Regions from separate parts of the Homo sapiens genome. Here all the other regions are linked to region 2. The links are contacts of gene promoters, found by promoter capture Hi-C in human tissues and cell types (Jung and others, 2019). All regions are on one chromosome and are shown on one strand. Each heading gives the region's core, a stretch centred on a gene start or on the middle of the fragment in contact. The rest is flanking DNA. Distances are from core to core; before and after follow the strand shown. Region 1 overlaps TVP23C-CDRT4 (TVP23C-CDRT4 readthrough). Region 2 holds the start of ZSWIM7 (zinc finger SWIM-type containing 7). Region 3 overlaps TRIM16 (tripartite motif containing 16).

Evidence for each region. The method cuts DNA at HindIII sites, captures the fragments that hold promoters and counts their contacts. A contact is called where the count stands out against the background at its distance.
Region 1: a contact is called between a fragment that was not itself captured here and the fragment with the promoter of ZSWIM7 in region 2, in 1 of the 25 tissues and cell types used here (heart right ventricle).
Region 3: a fragment that was not itself captured here is called in contact with the fragment with the promoter of ZSWIM7 in region 2 in 1 of the 25 tissues and cell types used here (stomach).

Annotation. Positions count from the first base shown.
Region 1 is chr17:15,548,583-15,551,877 of GRCh38, reverse strand. The region is part of intron 2 of TVP23C-CDRT4 (TVP23C-CDRT4 readthrough); the gene reads left to right. The region is part of intron 3 of TVP23C (trans-golgi network vesicle protein 23 homolog C); the gene reads left to right. Among named protein-coding and RNA genes, the nearest start is that of TVP23C, 13 kb to the left of the region's middle. The HindIII fragment of the contact is 3,548 bases long and covers 1-3,073 here.
Region 2 is chr17:15,997,807-16,001,028 of GRCh38, reverse strand. It overlaps ZSWIM7 (zinc finger SWIM-type containing 7), which reads left to right and starts at 1,325. Exons shown (of 5, transcript NM_001042697.2): 1 at 1,325-1,510. The coding sequence starts at 1,435. TTC19 (tetratricopeptide repeat domain 19) reads right to left here and starts at 1,205. Exons shown (of 10, transcript NM_017775.4): 1 at 997-1,205; 2 at 784-911. The coding sequence starts at 1,180. RefSeq lists silencers at 852-1,241, 1,592-1,751 and an enhancer at 1,362-1,451. The HindIII fragment of the contact is 22,610 bases long and covers 1-3,222 here.
Region 3 is chr17:15,671,219-15,674,585 of GRCh38, reverse strand. All of the region lies in intron 6 of TRIM16 (tripartite motif containing 16), which reads left to right. Among named protein-coding and RNA genes, the nearest start is that of TRIM16, 11 kb to the left of the region's middle. The HindIII fragment of the contact is 3,095 bases long and covers 448-3,367 here.

The DNA.
Region 1 (3,295 bases), core at 50-2,549, 450 kb after region 2:
TGAAACAGTTAAAATGGAGATGTGTCGTAATTGTTATAAATCTCAATGTACTTACTAAAAAAACAAAAAATCAATCTTCATCTAAACCCCTGGGTGTCCAATCTTTTGGTTTCCCTGGGCCACAGTGGAAGAAAGAATTATCTTGGGCCACACATAAAATACACTAACATTAGCTGATGAGCTTAAAAAAAAAATCGCACACAAAAAAATCTCATAATGTTTTAAGAAAGTTTACGAATTTCTCTTGGGCCGCATTCAAAGCTGTCCTGGGCAGCATGAGGCCTGTGGGCAGAGGGTTGGATAGGCTTGCCCTAGGTGATGTTAATGAAGATAAAGAAGAGGTAGAGAAGGGAAAATAATTTAAAGGTATGCTTAAATGCTAAAGCTTATATTGGTTTTTATTTTATTCTTCACTCTGACAAATTGAGTAAAAAAGGTTAAATAATGGCTTTAAAAATTTAATGGCAACTATGGCTGGGCGCGGTGGCTCATGCCTATAATCCCAGCACTTTGGGAGGCTGAGGCGGGTGGATCATGAGGTCAGGAGATCGAGACCATCCTGGCTAACATGGTGAAACCCCATCTCTGCTAAAAAAAAAAAAAAAAAAAAAATGAGCCGGGCATGGTGGCAGGCGCCTGTAGTCCCAGCTATTCAGGAGGCTGAGGCAGGAGGCGGAGCTTGGCAGTGAGCCGAGATCGCGCCACTGCACTCTAGCCTGGGCAACAGAGCAAGACTCCATCTCAAAAAAAAAAAACAATAATGGCAACTATTAGTAAAATTTAAAACCAGTCGTGTATCTTCTGCAACATTGGAGAAGATGGAGCAAGTAAAACAGTTCATAGAGCAAAAGAAGGAAAACAAAGCAACTGTCAAGGAAGCTTAAATCAGAGAGTACATGTATAAAGTGATGTAAGTAATAGCAAATTCATTATAATAGGAAATGTAATTTGATTAAACTACCCATTTAAAGACAAGAATACTAAGATTGGTCAGAAATCAAAGTCCAAACAAAAGATCTAACCAAATTAATGACATTAGAAAAAACAAAAGAAGGCAAAGATAACATCAGGCAAAAATAAAAGAAGGCAAAGATCAACTCAAACAAAAAGAAACTTGGCATTGTATTATTATCAGATGAGATATGGATCAGAGTAAGAAAGCACTAAGAGGAACAAAAAAAGGTGATTTTATGAATCACAGTGAAGATCATTCACAGAGTAAAATTATATCAAACTATGTATAGTAAAAAAATTGGAAATATTAGAAAATAGAAAAGCATTATGATGAGTTTAACAAACTACTATCTTAAACAAACCAAAGTGCCAAAAAATAAATAAGTTCTGAAGGATCTGAATGAAATAATTGGCAACATCAATTTGATAGCAGTATTTGGGACTTTGTATGACAGAGAGAATACTTTCTTGTTAAATGCCTGTGGAACATTTACAAAAATTGACTAAATATCACTGTGAAGAAAATCAAAATAAAATTGCCCAAAGCACCTACATTTTCTACTCCAAAGAAACAGAACTAGAAATTAATAGAAAGTAGTTGTTGAAATTGGAATTCTTTTAAAAAAGCGAACTACTACATATCTTGGGTTTAAAAGGAAGCAAAAACTGTAAATATAAGTTATTTATACCTTAATGGTGATCATTTACAGTTAAACTTTCTGAATATGTCAAAAACTGAATTCAGAGGGAAAATAATAGACTAAAGCCTTTTATTTTAGACAAGAAAGAGGGAAAATAATGGACTACTTGAGTCCAGAAATTTCAAAAACAAGCAATAAGTGTGAGAAATCAGGAAAATAAACTAATAAAGATAAAAGCAGGAAATAAAGAGTTAGAAAATGGAAACAGAAGAGTTTGAAAGTATTCTGAGAGCATTCTTTGAAAATACCTATAGAAGAGACCTCTGGTTTAGGTCTCCCTTGCCAGCTCTTTTTTTTTTTTACTTAGCATCTCTCCCATAGGAATTTTGGTCTCATAAGACTCTTCCTTTTCTTCTCCTGTATTCCCTTCCTAAGGAGTGCTGTCTGTGCTTCTGGTTTGAATTGCTGATCTGTAAGCTGTGTTGCCTCCCAGATCTGTATCTCCATTCAGGTTTGTCCTCACAACTTAAGGCCTCTCCATGTGTCTTCTTGACGTTTTTATGTGGCTGTCTTGAAGGCATCTCAAATCTTTTTTTTTTTTTTGAGACAAAATCTTGCTTTGTCACGCAAGCTGGAATGCAGTGGTGTGATCTTGGCTCACTGCAACCTCTGCCTCCCGGGGTTCAAGTGATTCTCCTGCCTCACCCTCCTAGATAGCTGAGACTACAGGCATGCACCACCATCCCTAGCGAATTTTTGTATTTTTAGTAGAGGCAGGGTTTCACTATGTTAGCCAGGCTGGTCTTGAACCCAAGTGAGCCACCATGCCTGGCCAGGCATCTTATATCTTAACATGTGTAAAATACTACTTGTCATCTTCCACTCCCCAAAAGCTCTTCTTCTTTGAGTGTTCCCTTTCGTGGGGCCTGGAATCACTATTTTTTTACTTGAGCAAACCGTAAATGTATCAGTTGCCTCCTTCCTACTCCATATCCAATTAATGACCAAGTCCCATAAATCCATAGATTGTACTTTCTTCATTAGGGCATCAGTGCCTGCTGCTCTATCTGGAATGCTCTTCTTCCTCCCACATCACCTTCATACAGGGATTCCTAATCTTTTTATGCCATGGGCCCCTTTCATAAACTCATGAATAAGTTTTCACATATATAAAATACATAAGATTTCAAAGGAAGTCACTTATATTGAAATATAATTTAAAAATATTAAAAAAGTAAATTTCTGATTGAGTTATATGTGTAGTAGTTCCCCCATTATCTGAGGTTTCGCTTTCTGCGGTTTCAGTACTGCTATATGCTACGCTAAACAGTAAGATACTGTGTGAGGAGAGAGAACTACATTCACATAACTTTTATTAGATTATGTTGTTATAATTGTTCTATTTTTATTTCTTATTCTCTTACTGTGCATTATTTATAAATTAAGCATTATCATAGGTATGTACTTATAGGAAAAAATATAGCATATATAAGGTTTGGTATTAACCACAATTTGAGGCATCTGCTGGGGGTCTTGGAATGTATCCCCTGCAGATAAGGGAGGACTACTATACTTTATGAATTTATTAATGGTAAGATCTAGTGGCAGGTCTAATAACTACTTTCAAAGCAGTGGTGAGCATAAACAATATGTTAAGATAACTGCAGCAAGTATAGTACAAAATGAAAAATGTCTGTGGT
Region 2 (3,222 bases), core at 76-2,575:
ACAAAAGGGGAAAGATTTGAGAAATATTTTGCATTTGTTGGCAACAGGACTTGTTGCTGGACTGTAAGTGTATTGGAAGGCAATGGTAAGGTACCACAAGTTTTAAGAATGACTATGAGGTTTTTAGGCTGAAAAACTGATGGTAGTAAAGAGATGGCGAAAGCGTATGTTGAGGAGGCATTAAAGATCGTTTAGTTTTGGGCATGTTAAATCTGAGAGGTAGGTATGGTCCTAAAGTGCAAATGGCATGTCAGTAGCACACTACAGAATGGAAATACAAATTTGGACGTTGTTGGCATCGAGTAGGTATTTAGCTCAATGGAAGAGATGAGATAACTTGGGAAAAGAGGAGGAAAAAAAAATAGAAAAGGATGTGGAGAAAAGGAAGAATTCAGGAGGAGAACCGAACCGCATAACCAACACTAAGTTGCCATTTTCAGGCCGCTATATACGTGCGAAATTATGTCATTTCAGATAGGCTGGTTAATTGATAAAACCACTACAAAACGTTCCCGATATTTCGTTTGCATAAAGCGTGATGCCTAGGGCGCCATCTCCATTTGCACTTGACACTGCAGAGGTTTTACTGCAGGCCTTAGAGTCGGAAAAGCCTGGATGGATTCCAATCCCCTCTCGGATGACCCACCTCATTCTCGGCAATTTTACCCGCGGAGCCTCCATCCACTCTTCGGCGAGGCGGAGAGAGTAATGCGCAGCAACGCCAAGACCCCGCTCACAAAGGCTACCGCGCTCGGCCGGGCGCAGGGCCCGGAGCCGCCTCACCTTGGCTCGCTTCAGCAGCTGGATGATCTCTGCCTCGGCCTCGTCCGCCCCGTCCTCGGCAGCGGCCCCGTCGGCTCCCTGCTGCTCCTCCTCCTCTGCCGCAGCGGGCCTCGAGAACCAGGCGAGCGCTGCGGGAAGGGGCTCTGAGGTCATCGGGCCCGGCCCGCGCCCCTGTCCCCGCCCGGCCGGCCCCGCCCGGCCCGCGCCCCTCACCTGCCAGCAGCGGCAGCAGGCCTGGGCCCCGGCCGTGCGGCGCGACTCGGGATGGCGGCACCTGCACCTCGGGCCCCGGACCTCCTGCCAGCCCCGGGAGCAGGCGCGCGGAGCAGCCCCGGCACCGCCGCCCCGCGGCCCGCAGGAAGCCTCGGCCCAGGCTCCAGCTCAGGAGCCGGAACATGCTCCCGCCGCGTCCTCTGCGCACTGCAGGCCAGACGCGCTCCTGGCCCCCGACCACGCGCCGAGCGCCCTCCGGATTGGCCGGGCCCTGACGACTGAGCAGGACATCCCTGCGTCCGCACGCGCGATGACGCGCCCCGACGTCACTCCGTCTCGCCCTGCCCCGGCGGGGGGTCAGGATCCTCCACAGGTAGGCGCAGTCAGCTGGAGCGTCGCGGCGGTCCGCCGGTCGTGGAGGGCGTGTCCTGCGGCGCGATGGCCGTAGTGTTGCCGGCGGTTGTGGAGGAGCTCCTGAGCGAGATGGCGGCGGCGGTGCAGGAGAGCGCGCGAAGTACGGGACCGAGGTCGTGTGTGGCTGCGCCATGGGCGCGGGCGGGGCATCCGGGCACCGCCGGGCCGGGAGGCAGGAGGCGGGGTGTCCGGGCCTGGCCCTGCCTTTTTTCCATGTGGTTCTCTAAACCTCTTGTTCGTAAAAAGACAAAAAAACAAAACAACAAAAAAGCGAAATTGGAACAAGTAAAAGTCAAATCGATTCAGCAAATATTTACGGTACAGCGCAGTTGCAGGAGCCCCTCCGTCGGAGCGAGTAGGCCAGTGGGGACCGAAGTGCTGAGAGCTGGCCGGGTCGCTGGGAGGGGTCCCCGCCCGGGGGTGGAAGGGACGGGAGCCTACAGTGAGTGATAGAAACGTGGAGTTCTTGATTATTTTACACGAAATTTTGAATTATTAAACTTCTTTTTCTCAAATTCTGATGTTAACATTAAAGTTAATGCTTCCATACACTTTAAAAAGTAGGCCCAGCGCAGTGGCTCACTCCCGTAATCCCAGCACTTTGGGAGGCCGAGGCAGTTGGATTACCTAAGGTCAGGAGTTCGAGACCAGCCTGGCCAACATGGTGAAACTTCGTCTCTACTAAAAATACAAAAAATTAGCTGGGCGTGGTGGCGGGCGCCTGTAATTCCAGCTACTCAGGAGGCTGAGGCAGGAGAATCGCTTGAACCCGGGAGGCGGAGGTTGCCGTGAGCCGAGATCGCGCCATTGCACTCCAGCCTGGGCAACAAGAGCGAAATTCCATCTCAAAAAAAAAAAAAAAAGCATTTTAAGAGCCACAAAACCTAAATGCATATGCAATCGTTGGAGTAAATCTGGGTATTGTGAAAGCACCATTTTTTTTCTGACCAGCAGAGGGTACTCTTTGGCTATGCTCACCAAAATCACTTGAGAAGGGTTGATCTCAAGATGTGTTCAGAGTATGCTAGGATAAGATCAAATCAAATTTGATATACTCAAAATGCATTGACTAATGAACTACTCTTAGGATGTAAAAATGGCCACCTTATAAATAACAGCCATATCAGGCCCCCAAACTGCCATCGCTTATTCAACTTGGATGGCTTTTGTTTTAAAAGTACTGTACTGCATTTTGAAAGGGTTTATCTTGAGTTACTGTTTTTAAGGAACTGAGAAAAATAAGCCAACTTTGTTTCCTCATCTCAGTCAAAATTAAGGAGACTTAAGTATATGTGCTTGAAAGATTAGTGCAGCCAAGTATTCAAACATACTTGTTTCCAAAAAGGATGGGAAAAAAGCCAACTGATGTTAGCTTATACAATTGTTCTGGGCTCTCAGATTTGATGGCCTGAGGGTTTGGAATGCTGTCACTTTAAACAATAATCGCCAGAACTGTTCTGTGTCTGAATAGGTTAATCCATACACTGACAGTAGTTTGGGTTGGTTTGTTTTTTTTTTTTAGACAGAGTCTTGCTCTGTCTCCCAGGCTGGAGTGCAATGGGCGATCTCAGCTCAGTGCAACCTCCGCTTCCCAAGTTCAAGTGATTCTCCTGCCTCAGCCTCCCAAGTAGCTGTGACTACAGGCGCATGCCACCACACCCGGCTAATTTGTGTATTTTTAGAAGAGACGGGGTTTCACCATATTGGCCAGGCTGGTCTCAAACTCCTGACCTTGTGATACGGACACCTCAGCCTCCCAAAATGCTGGGATTACAGGCGTGAGCCACCGTGCCCAGCCAGTTTTGGGTTTTT
Region 3 (3,367 bases), core at 746-3,245, 330 kb after region 2:
GAGCTCAGGAGATGCCCATGGATTTCTTTATCTAAAGCACCAGGTGTGCGGTGGGGCAGTGTGGGGGAGGGGAGAATAGAAAATGGTGGAAACTTAAATGCTGTCAATGGCCAGACATCAAAAATGGGGCCAAACTCTGTTACATCTACCTTTTCAGAAATCTTTTTTCACTTATCTCAAAATAGCTCTTTAATGTTATTGTGTCTTTTTTTTTTTTGAGACGGAGTCTTGCTCTGTCACCAGGCTGGAGTGCAATGGCATGATCTCAGCTCACTGTGACCTCCGCCTCCCAGGTTCAAGTGATTCTCCTGCCTCAGCCTCCCAAGTAGCTGGGACTACAGGTGCCCGTCACCATGCCCGGCTAATTTTTGTATTTTTTGTAGAGACAGGGTTTCACCATGTTGGCCAGGATGGTCTCAATCTCTTGACCTCATGATCCGCCCGTCTCAGCCTCCCAAAGTGCTGGGATTACAGGCGTGAGCCACCGCGCCCGGCCTATTGTGTCTTCTGTTGATGAGGAATCTATTTTGCTTTTTCCATCTCCCCTTTCTTAGAATTTTCTTTTTTTTCCCCTTCCTTAAGGCTGAAATTATAACTATCAGTTCTCAGAAAGTAAGAACCGTTTACCTTGGAAACTGTCAGCCTTACATAGTAACTATTATGCAATCCCAACAGAAGAGTTAGGGAAGATTGAGTCAACACTTTTAGAAAACATTTTTAAAAAAATGGTCATATGAATTTGTATCAGACTATCACCAGATTAAGTTACTTGAGGCTGCCTGATGAAAATTTCTGTATATGGCTCTAAGAAATTTTATGTGTACCTAATAAAGCCAGGCATTATTTTTTGGTTATGCTGTGACTCAACACTTACATGCAAACTTTTTTTTTTCTTTCAAATCTTCCTAAGCTTAAATTGATGTTAGAGTAACTTTTTTGGTTTCCATGAATTATTTTCCCTGCCTTTTTTTTTTCTTCCTGTTTTAGATGCATTTCAGTTACCTGAGAGTAATCCAATTGTATAGGATTGGAGTCCCTTGACTTTCCCATATCATTCCCAGTGTACTAGCCAGAACCTGAGATTTCCCTGCTTTCTATTTTTCTCACTAAAAGGGCTATTCTGAACTCTCTCTCCTCACCTGCTTTCCTATCCTTCTCTTCTGTTTAAAGAAGTCGGTGTTAGTACAGCTTGAAATTTAACAGGGCTTGAATTACAGAAGGCACAACTGAAGTTAGAGAAGAAAGGATTTTTGTTCTGAAAATTAGCGGTGAGACAGACCACTCTGAATAAACGGTGATATCTGGAAATAATTTTTGAAATGCCCAAAATCCTTCGTAACTTTAAGAAATTGAAAAGGGGTGGGGAGGGTCGTCTATAAGAGTGTCTGTCATTAGAATAAGACTTCTTAAAGTAATGTTTGTTAACAATTGGTAACAAGGTCATTTCCAAACATAGTTCCTGGAGCCAGTTGGCTTTGGATTGGTAGAAACCATTGTTGTTCCTTCAGAGTCCTCATCTTTGGTAATTTATTTTAGAACTAAAGACTGAAGACAGATGTCCTTGAACAAAAGGTCTGTCCTAGAATGGGTGGATTGCATGAATTCGTGGATTGTACTATAGTGAATTGGTATAATTCTCTTGTAGCCTAAATATAATTTGGATCCAGAAATATTAAAATTTTGAGGACATTATAGTGATGAAATATTTGAAATCAGAACAGTTCTAGAAATATTATGACTCTGGGACTTACAGAGCCTTTTTTGTTTTGTTTCAGTTTACTCTGACTGTACTGTTAGTAGTATGGTCTATGCTTGTGCTCTCCTCTCAGATTAGTTTGTTTGTTTGTTTGTTTGAGACAGGGTTTTGCTCTATTGCCTGGGCTGGAGTGCAGTGACGCCATCACAGCTCACTGCAGCCTTGAACTCTCAGGATCCTTGATCCTCCCACCTCAGCCTCCCGAGTAGCTGGGACCACAGGCAAGCGTCACCACACCCGGCTAATTTGTTTGTATTTTTTGTAGATGGTGTTTTGCCATATAGCCCAGACTGGTCTTGAACTCTTGAGCTCAAGCAGTCTGCCCACCTTAGCTTCCTGAAGTGCTGGCATTACTGGCATGAGCCGCCACGCCCAGCATTTGGATATTTCTATAACAGGGTTCTCTTTCGTGGGCTGTAGTGTAGACCACACTTACCCTTCATGATGGAGAATATAATTCCTCTCCTTTTACAACCTAAGCTAAAGCTCAGTGTGTTTGTTTGGTTGTGGTAAAGTCTGGGGTGGGGGTTTGATTTGGGGCTTTAGATAGTAAATGTTCTGATATTTTGATCTCTTTTTGGTAGGTAATCTGGATTCTTTAGTTTTTAAATCATGAGTGTCTAATTTTCTAACTTATATGTTAAAATTGCCTGTATGCTTGGCTGATATGTGTCCAATGAAGGGAAAATTAATTTATATGTTAAATTAATTCCTCCAAGCAAATTATCCTGAATAATTTGCACTGTTGTGATAAACTAACTAGGGTGACCCCAGGCTTGATTTGAGGATTGCAGGAAGAGATATTTAGTGATTAAAGTAGGGCTTTCTGTCTTTTCGGAGGAGGCATTAATACTTTTTAGGTTTTCTTTAAGTTAAGAGGCAGTTGTCACGTTATCACTCTTTTCATTTTGCAAGTTAGTCTCCTTTAGGACCCAGCTTAAGGTATTACCTCCACCCTCACCTCTTGGCCACTGTAACTGAAAATAATCTCCTCCTCTGAATACCAGTGCTGCTTACTTACTATTTATATCACTCACATATGCCTATGAAACATGACAATTTTGGTTTGATACTAATATCCGGCCTTATTCTCAATCTTAACATCATCAGGGATCATGATTTTAACATCATTATCATCATGATGAGGGAAACCTATCTTTGTTTAGGGCTTTCGTTGCTGATTTTACACAAAATAATACTTGCATACGGTTAAAAAAATCACGTGAAATAGAGTTTTTCAATGAAAAGTCATTCTTCTAGGAACTTTGACCTGTTAGATATATATCGTATATTTGATGACTGCTGGGTATGTTTTGCCAAGAGTCATCTATGCAAAATACAGTGGCTTGAGATAAACATCTCAGGAAAAATCATCTCATACTTATATTTTACTTAACAAGAATTCACCCATATGCACCAAGATATCCCCCCAAACCAAAAGATAAATTAGTGTAATTAAGAATACTATAAAATTATGTTTTGCACACCTATATAAAATTCTATATTTATCTATTCATGAGTTATTATCAGAGCTATACACAAAACTAGGTGTATTTTATGGGCAAATTCAAGGATTTATAAAGACAATATTGGTATTGCCCTGTTTTCATC